2 separate regions of the Homo sapiens genome follow, and region 1 is linked to region 2. Evidence: promoter capture Hi-C in human tissues and cell types (Jung and others, 2019). All regions are on one chromosome and are shown on one strand. The core of a region is centred on a gene start or on the middle of the fragment in contact, and the rest is flanking DNA. Distances in the headings are between cores, read along the strand shown.

Evidence for each region. Contacts are between HindIII fragments. The study calls those that stand out against the background at their distance.
Region 1: a fragment that was not itself captured here is called in contact with the fragment with the promoter of RHPN2 in region 2 in 4 of the 25 tissues and cell types used here (H1 embryonic stem cells, pancreas, spleen and 1 more).

The regions. Positions count from the first base shown.
Region 1 is chr19:33,109,865-33,113,653 of GRCh38, forward strand. It overlaps GPATCH1 (G-patch domain containing 1), which reads left to right. Exons shown (of 20, transcript NM_018025.3): 11 at 1-152; 12 at 1,860-2,038; 13 at 2,622-2,749. Among named protein-coding and RNA genes, the nearest start is that of WDR88, 20 kb to the right of the region's middle. The HindIII fragment of the contact is 5,908 bases long and covers 1-3,789 here.
Region 2 is chr19:33,062,268-33,066,159 of GRCh38, forward strand. RHPN2 (rhophilin Rho GTPase binding protein 2) reads right to left here and starts at 2,621. Exons shown (of 15, transcript NM_033103.5): 1 at 2,517-2,621. The coding sequence starts at 2,585. RefSeq lists enhancers at 1,315-1,943, 3,156-3,655 and silencers at 2,229-2,448, 2,509-3,008. The HindIII fragment of the contact is 19,604 bases long and covers 1-3,892 here.

The DNA.
Region 1 (3,789 bases), core at 853-3,352, 47 kb after region 2:
TGCAGCGGCTGCTGGGCACTGCTCTTGGAACATGGCATTAGGTGGTGGGACGGCCACCTTAAAAGCCAGCAACTTCAAGCCTTTCGCCAAAGATCCGGAAAAGCAAAAGCGATACGACGAGTTCTTAGTACACATGAAACAGGGTCAGAAAGGTGGGTGCTGGGCCTGGGTGTCCCAAATCTCGGCCCGGGCGGGGTCATATTCTCACTGTTCTCATCCTAGACCCATATTTACAGTTGAGGTATCCTGTTCTGTCAGTGTTTTTGCTTTATCCTGCTGCAAATAGTGCAAAGGTTTCAGGCCTTGGCTCTTGACCTCAGAAAGCAAGAACAGTTGGCTTATGTTCCTCCATATCTCAGGCCAAAGCTAGCTGTTTAAGTAGAGAACACAGCTGGCGGTGGCCGGTACTTACAGGCCGTTTGGTGTTTGCAAGTGCTTGACTGCTACAAGCATTGCATTCACATTTCATATCAGCATCATCTTCCACCTCATCCGAAGATCCTAACCATCCATTCCTGACTCATAGTCTAAAATATGACTTAAAACAATAGTTAGCTATTGAACCGTTACAGAGGGAAAACAATCACTTTGTGATCTGTGAAGTAAATAGGGCAAGAATGAGGCAAGAATGAGGAAAGGGGTTGCTGTTGTATGCAGTAGTCCTCGTGAGAGGTTATCAGTAAATTACAGGGTTGTTTTTTAAAAACAGATCTTTGCGGAATGTAAAGTCTATTTACTGTGCCTTAACTCTCTACTAAGAACCTACATCACTAATGTTTATTTGCTTTAAAAAAAAAAAACGGTTAGTGAAAGAGTGTTTTTCTGCCAAAACATAGGGATGTGGTTGAGGTGAACTTATCACTGCCTGGGAGTGGTGACAAGTTCCTTACTGCTGAAGATTTAACCAACCATTAGCCTCTCAAATGGTTTTCTCTGTTATGTTTGGTAGACAGAATTCAATAAAAGCATCATTTTGGCTGGGGATGGTGGCTCATGCCTGTAATCCAAGTACTTTGGGAGGCTGAGATGAGGATCGCTTTAGCCTAGGAGTTCAAGACCAGCCTGGGCAACATAGTGAGATCCTGCCTCTACCAAAAAAAAAAAGATATATATGTATATATAAAATATATTATATATATATATACACACATCATATTTTATTTATTTTTTTGAACGGAGTCTTGCTCTGTTGCCCAGGCTGGAGTGCAGTGTCAGGATCTTGGCTCACTGCAATCTCAGCTCACTGCAACCTCCACCTCCCAGGTTCAAGTGATTATCCTGCCTCAGCCTTCTGAGCAGCTGGGACTATAGGTATGTGCCACCACGCCTGGTAATTTTTTGTTTCCCGTCTCTACTAAAAATACAAAAAATTAGCCGGGCATGGTGGCGGACGCCTGTAGTCCCAGCTACTCGGGAGACTGAGGCAGGAGAATGGTGTGAACGTGGGAGGCGGAGCTTGCAGTAAGCAGAGATCATGCCACTGCACTCCAGCCTGGGAGACAGAGTGAGACTCCATCTCAGAAAAAAAAAAAAAAAAAAAAAGAGAGATGGGGTTTCACCATGTTTGCCAGGCTGGTCCCGAACTCCTGACCTCAAGTGACCCACCCGCCTCGGCCTCCCAAAGTGCTGGGATTACAGGCATGAACAACTGCGCCTGGCCTAAATTTTTTTTAAAAAAGCACAATTTTGAAGGAAACAGCAATATTACCTGCCAAATACCTCACCATTCCCATAGTCATAAAAACAAGGATAAGGACTTATGAAATATACAGGGATACAGTGGTGCCCAGCAGATGTTCTCTTGTAAGCCCCATGTTTTCCTGAAAAGTGAAGCTGCTTCTTGTTCTCTGCCCCCGCAGATGCTCTGGAACGCTGTCTGGACCCCAGCATGACAGAGTGGGAGCGAGGCCGTGAGCGGGATGAGTTTGCCCGGGCGGCCCTGCTGTACGCATCTTCCCATTCGACCTTGTCCTCCAGGTTCACTCACGCCAAGGAGGAGGATGACTCAGATCAGGTTGAAGTCCCTCGAGACCAAGAGGTCTGTTGTCACCATGTCCCTTACCTGGTGAACTTTAATATTAAAGCACTGCCTAGCCAAAATAGTTTTTTCCTTTTTTTTGAGACGGAGTCTCTCTCTGTCGCCCAGGCTAGAGTGCAGTGGTGTGATCTCGGCTCACTGCAGCCTCCGCTTCCTGGGTTCAAGCGATTCTCCTGCCTCAGCCTTCCAAGTAGCTGGGATTACAGGCGCTCGCCACAACAGCCATCTAATTTTTGTATTTTTAGTAGAGATGGGGTTTCACCATATTGGCCAGGCTGGTCTTGAACTCCTGACCTCAGGTGATCCACCCGCCTCGGCCTCTCAAAGTACTAGGATTACAGGCATGAGCCACCATGCCCGGCCGAGCCAAATATTTTTAATCCCTTGGTGAGAAGATCAAAATATACATGTATAGGAGAATAGGAAACCATTTTATGCCTTAGTTTCCAATGTACTGGAGCATAAATGTTATAGCACAAACTTTTTTCACAGTTCTAGAAGATTGCTTGAAAATTTTAAATGGGAGAGCAGTCAGGTCAGTGGTGCGGCCACTTGATGGAACAGAATGCATGTCTTTTTCCAGAATGATGTCGGGGATAAGCAGTCGGCTGTGAAGATGAAGATGTTTGGGAAGCTCACCCGAGACACGTTTGAGTGGCACCCTGACAAGCTTCTATGTAAGAGATTTAATGTCCCTGACCCTTATCCAGAGTAAGTTGGATAAACCTTTACATCAGTACAAAATGTATTCTTGATATTAAAGCTAATTTTCCCCTTACATACTCATATAAATTCTTATTTTTTCTACATGAACTTATTTGCATATCACTGGATATACAAATCTACACATTTTATAGATTTGCTTTGATAAATTACTTCTATAATTTGTTACTAAAACAAAATCTGGATAGCAAACTTTATTCCATATTGAAGCTATGAAACTCAGATATGTCAAGTTACAAAAGCATTATGCCTCTCTCATTTGCCACCTTCTTGTTGCTGCTCATGTGGTTTACATTTATAATGTTACTTATGTTTTTAAATTATCATTATAAAAGTTAAACACTTTCTTATTTGATTAATAACACTTCAAGAGGTGGGGTGTGGTGGTGCACACTTGTAATCCTAGCTTGGGAGGCCAAGGCAGGAGGATCGCTTGAGCCCAGGAGTTCGAGGCCAGCCCGGGTAACATAGTAAGACCCCATCTCTAAAAAATCAAACAAACAAACAAACAAACAGAACACTTCAAGATAGTAGGCCGGGTGCAATGGCTCACGCCTGTAATCCCTGTATTTTGGGAGACTGAGGCAGGCAGATCACTTGAGGTCAGGAGTTCAAGACCAGCCTGACCAACATGGTGAAACCCCGTCTCTACTAAAAATACAAAAAATTAGCTGGGCGTGGTGGTGCGTGCCTATAGTCCCAGCTATTTGGGAGGCTGATGCAGGAGAATTGCTTGAACCTGGGAGGCGGAGGTTGCAGTGAGCCAAGATTGTGCCATTGCACTCTAGCCTGGGTGACAAGGCGAGACTCAATCTCAAGAGAAAAAAAAACAAAACAAAAAGATAGCATATGTGGTCAAACCAGAGACTGTCAGAAACTTTAGGTATATTTTTATCAGTGGAGCTTTTCCTTAATGGAAATCCATTTTGAAAGTTAAATTCTTGTCCTTATCATAATAAGGAAAATCTCATGGGACCTAAAATCAGTCACCCAGATTCTCGAACTGCTTTGAGAAGTGAAAGCATCTT
Region 2 (3,892 bases), core at 1,371-3,870:
CTGGCCAACATGGCAAAACCTTGCCTCTACTAAAAATACAAAAGTTAGCCAGGCGTGGTTGATATGCGCCTGTAGTCTCAGCTACTGGGAAGGCTGAGGCGGGAGAATCACTTGAAACTGGTAGATGGAGGTTGCAGTGAGCCGAGATCGCGCCACTGCACTCCAGCCTGGGTGACAGAGCGAGACTCCATCTCAGGGGGAAAAAAAAAAAAACACCTGTAGCCGGGCGCAGTGGCTTACACCTGTAATCCCAGCACTTTGGAAGGCCATGGCAGGTGGATCACTTAAGGTCAGGAGTTCAAGACTAGCCTGGGCAACACGGTGAAACCCCGTTTCTACTAAAAATACAAAAAATTAGCCAGGTGTGGTGGCAGGCGCCTGTAATCCCAGCTACTTCGGAGGCTGAGGCAGAACTGCTTGAACCCCGGAGGCAGAGGTTGCAGTGAGCCGAAATCACACCACTGCACTCCAGCCTGAGCGACAGAGTGAGACTCTGTTTCATAATAATAATAATAATAATAATAATAATAATAATAATTAATAAATGAAAAACACCCAACTGTGCACCTTTCCTAGCTCTCTTGCCATCCACTCTTTCCCAGTGCGGAGCAAGAAGTCCTCCCCTGGGCTCACAGACACGGAGGGCTCCCACAGGAAAATGTGTTCTGGGAGGCTTGGGACCACCCCTCACAGGTGTGCTTCTCTTGCTGCCATTTTCCCCCAGGTGCTGCTGGAGTTCCAGAGCTACACCTGCTCAGAGAACAATCTGGGGAGGAAATGTCCCAGAAAGAGGCAGCAACTTGCGGGAGGCCACACAGCAATTTTGTGGGAGTGGCAGTCAGGCCCCGGGGCCCGAGGACAGACATAGGAATTCCCAGGCCAGGCCTCCTCCTGCAATTCCATGGCCTGTGATCCTCTGTCCCAAACGCCACACATAATTAGAAGTTATAATCCTGTAATTCCATGATGACATCTTTAAACTTAAATATACCTCAAAACTACTTTTTTTTTTTTTAATGCTAAAAGCAACTTCACAAAAAAGAAGTTTTCCCACTCTGCCCCACACTGTCCTGCCCAGGGCTCCTCACCAGTGAGCAAAGCCCACAGTCTCTCTGTGTCACCTGGGAGAAGGAGGAAGATGCCAAGACCATTTAAGAACTGGATCCTAAGGCTTTGAACAATTAAGAATTGATTCGTTTATGGGAAAGTTTCACTTCCCTATTTATAATTATGCACTGTCGTATCTATTATAAAAACGAAAATCAACAACAATCTCTCCACCCTCTCAGTGATCCCTGGCCAAGGGCCAAAAGCTATTTTTAGACTTGCTCAGGACCTAGAGGGAGGAAGGCTTGGAAGGCATCACCATGACTCCCGGCTCCAAAGCATCTTTGTAGCCCAGGCCCTGCCGCCTGCGGGTATCCCAGGGCCCCTGCTCCACAGGCTGGGGTCGCTTTTGAGGGACTGAGCTCCCTGACTGTTATCTTCTGGGCCCAAGAGCTCCTGGACATGCCAAGAACCTGCGAGGCCGGCACCCGCCACCCGCCGCCCGCCGCCCGCCGCCCGCCGCCAGCCCCCGCCAAGTCTCCCGGACAACAAGACAAATCCGCTTTGGCACACAGTGAGACGCACAAGACCGTGGGCCTCACCTGCGGTGCTCACGCCCTCCTGGACGACCCGGAGCGGAGGAGGGTGCAACGCCGGAGGCTCCCTCCCACCAGCAGCTCTCCCCTGCTCCCTGAAAAGTCCCACAGGCGGACTTTGGAAGCATTTTGGAGGCAAAAAGAGACCGCCGGCCGGGCGCAGTGGCTCACGCCTGTAATCCCAGCACTTTGAGAGACCGGGGCGGGAGGATCCCTTGAGCCCAAGAGTTCGCGACCAGTCTGGGCAACACAGCGATACCCCAGTTCTACAAAAAATTAGCGTGGCGAGGTGGCGCGCCTGCAGTCCCAGTTACTCGGGAGGCTGGGGCGGGAGGATCGCTGGAGGCCAGGAAGTCGAGGCTGCAGTGAGCTATAATCGCGCCACTCTACTCCAGCCTGGGCGACAGAGCGCCTAAAATAAATATGAGACCGCCAACACGCCTGGGATGGTCTGTCTCCACCCGCGCTCCCACCAAGCGCTCTTGCAACGCGCCCAGAGGCCAAGGGCGCCAGCGCAGCCAGGAACGGGTCCTTTCCCCAGGCACCAGGGATCGCAAGCGAGGGGTGGCGGGGGGTGGGAGGGGGGAGACCCAAGCACCCCTCCAGGTCCTCCGCCCGCACCTGCGCGGAGCGGCCACATGCGCCTCCCCTACTCCCCGCCCAGTCCCGGATGCCACCTGCCCGGGACGCCGGGGACATCGCCGCCCCCACTCCTCCCCGCCAGCCTCCGTCCGGCCAGCGCCGGCCCAGTGCGCCCCCTCCCCCTCCCGGCCTAGTGGACCCCGACTGCGCGCTCCCACGGCCCCTGCAGGGCCCGGGGGAAAGGAGGTCTGGAGCCCGCAGGTCCCCGCCCGCCCGCCCGAAGCCGCCCACCTTCCGAAAGTAGCCGTCGTTCTCCTTCTCCAGCGGCTGGGGGGCCGCGGGCAACAGCGCGTCGGTCATGCTAGCGGCGCGGGCGCGGAGGGCGGACGGCGGACTGAGGCGCGGCGGCTGAGGCTGGCCCGAGAGGACGTGCGGCCCCGCCCCTGTCCCCGCCCTTCCCCGCCCCTCCACTCCCACCCCGTCCCGCGGCCCTTCTAGCCCCGCCTGAGGCCGAGCACTGGAGCCCTGGAGACGCGCCCCGCCCCGTCGCGGGCCCCGAACCCGCGCCCCTTGAGGCGCTCGTCACCCGGAGAGCTGCGCCCTGGGCGCGGCGCCTCGGGGTTGTCTGTGGGCGTCGTGGCTGACTCAACTTTGCGAGTGCCGCGAGAGCGCAGGAAAGGCACTGGGGTCTCAGGGGCCGCAGCGAAGCCCTGGCTGTGGACCTGCACCCTGCCCTGGAGCCCGGGGAGTCAGTGAGGAAGGCGTGGATCCAGGCGCGTCCCTCCTGGGTGAAGCCCGTGCGCCGCGGGGGAAGGGGCCAGACTCGACGCCACGTCGAGGGCGCGGCGGGAGCTCTGGGCCCTGGGCCCGGCGGTTTGGAAAAGCTTTTCCCAAGAGGGGAGCCCATGGCGGAGGGAGCGTTGACTGCCCCGCCGAGCGCCTTGCCCGGACTACTCGGGCTTGTTGGCATGGGATCAACTCAGCCGATTCCCTGTCCGCGCTGCAAAGACGAGTGGGATCCGCTGGGCTCGCGGACTGCCCTGAGAGAGGGGACCAGGAGGGGTTTTGCGCCCCAGACACGGCAGATGTCCTTGAGCACAGTTCTTTTTTTTAAGAGATGGGACCTCGCTCTGTCGCCCAGGCTGGAGAGCAGTGTTGCGATCTCGACTCTTTGCAGCCTCGACCTCCCAGGATCAAGCGATGCTCCAGCCTCAGCCTCCCAAGTAGCAGGGGCTGCAGGCGCGGGCCAACGCGCCCGGCCTTTTTATTTATTTTTTTTATTTTTTTATTTGAGACGGAGTCTCGCCCTGTCGCCCAGGCTGGAGTGCAATGGCGCGATCTCGGCTCACTGCAACTTCCGCCTCCCGGGTTCAAGCGATTCTCCTGCCTCAGCCTCCCGAGTAGCTGAGACTACAGGCGTCCACCACCACACCCAGCTAATCTTCAGTAGAGACAGTTTCACCTTGTTGGCTAGGCTTGTCTTGAACTCCTGACCTTGTGATCTGCCCACCTCGGCCTGCCTCCCAAAGTGCTGGGATTACAGCTTTTGTTTTGTTTTGTTTTGTTTTGTTTTTAAATAGATGCGGGGTCTCACCATGATATCAAGGCTGGCCTCGAACTCCCGACCTTAAGTGATCCTCACTCGTCTCGCTCTGTCGCCCAGGCTG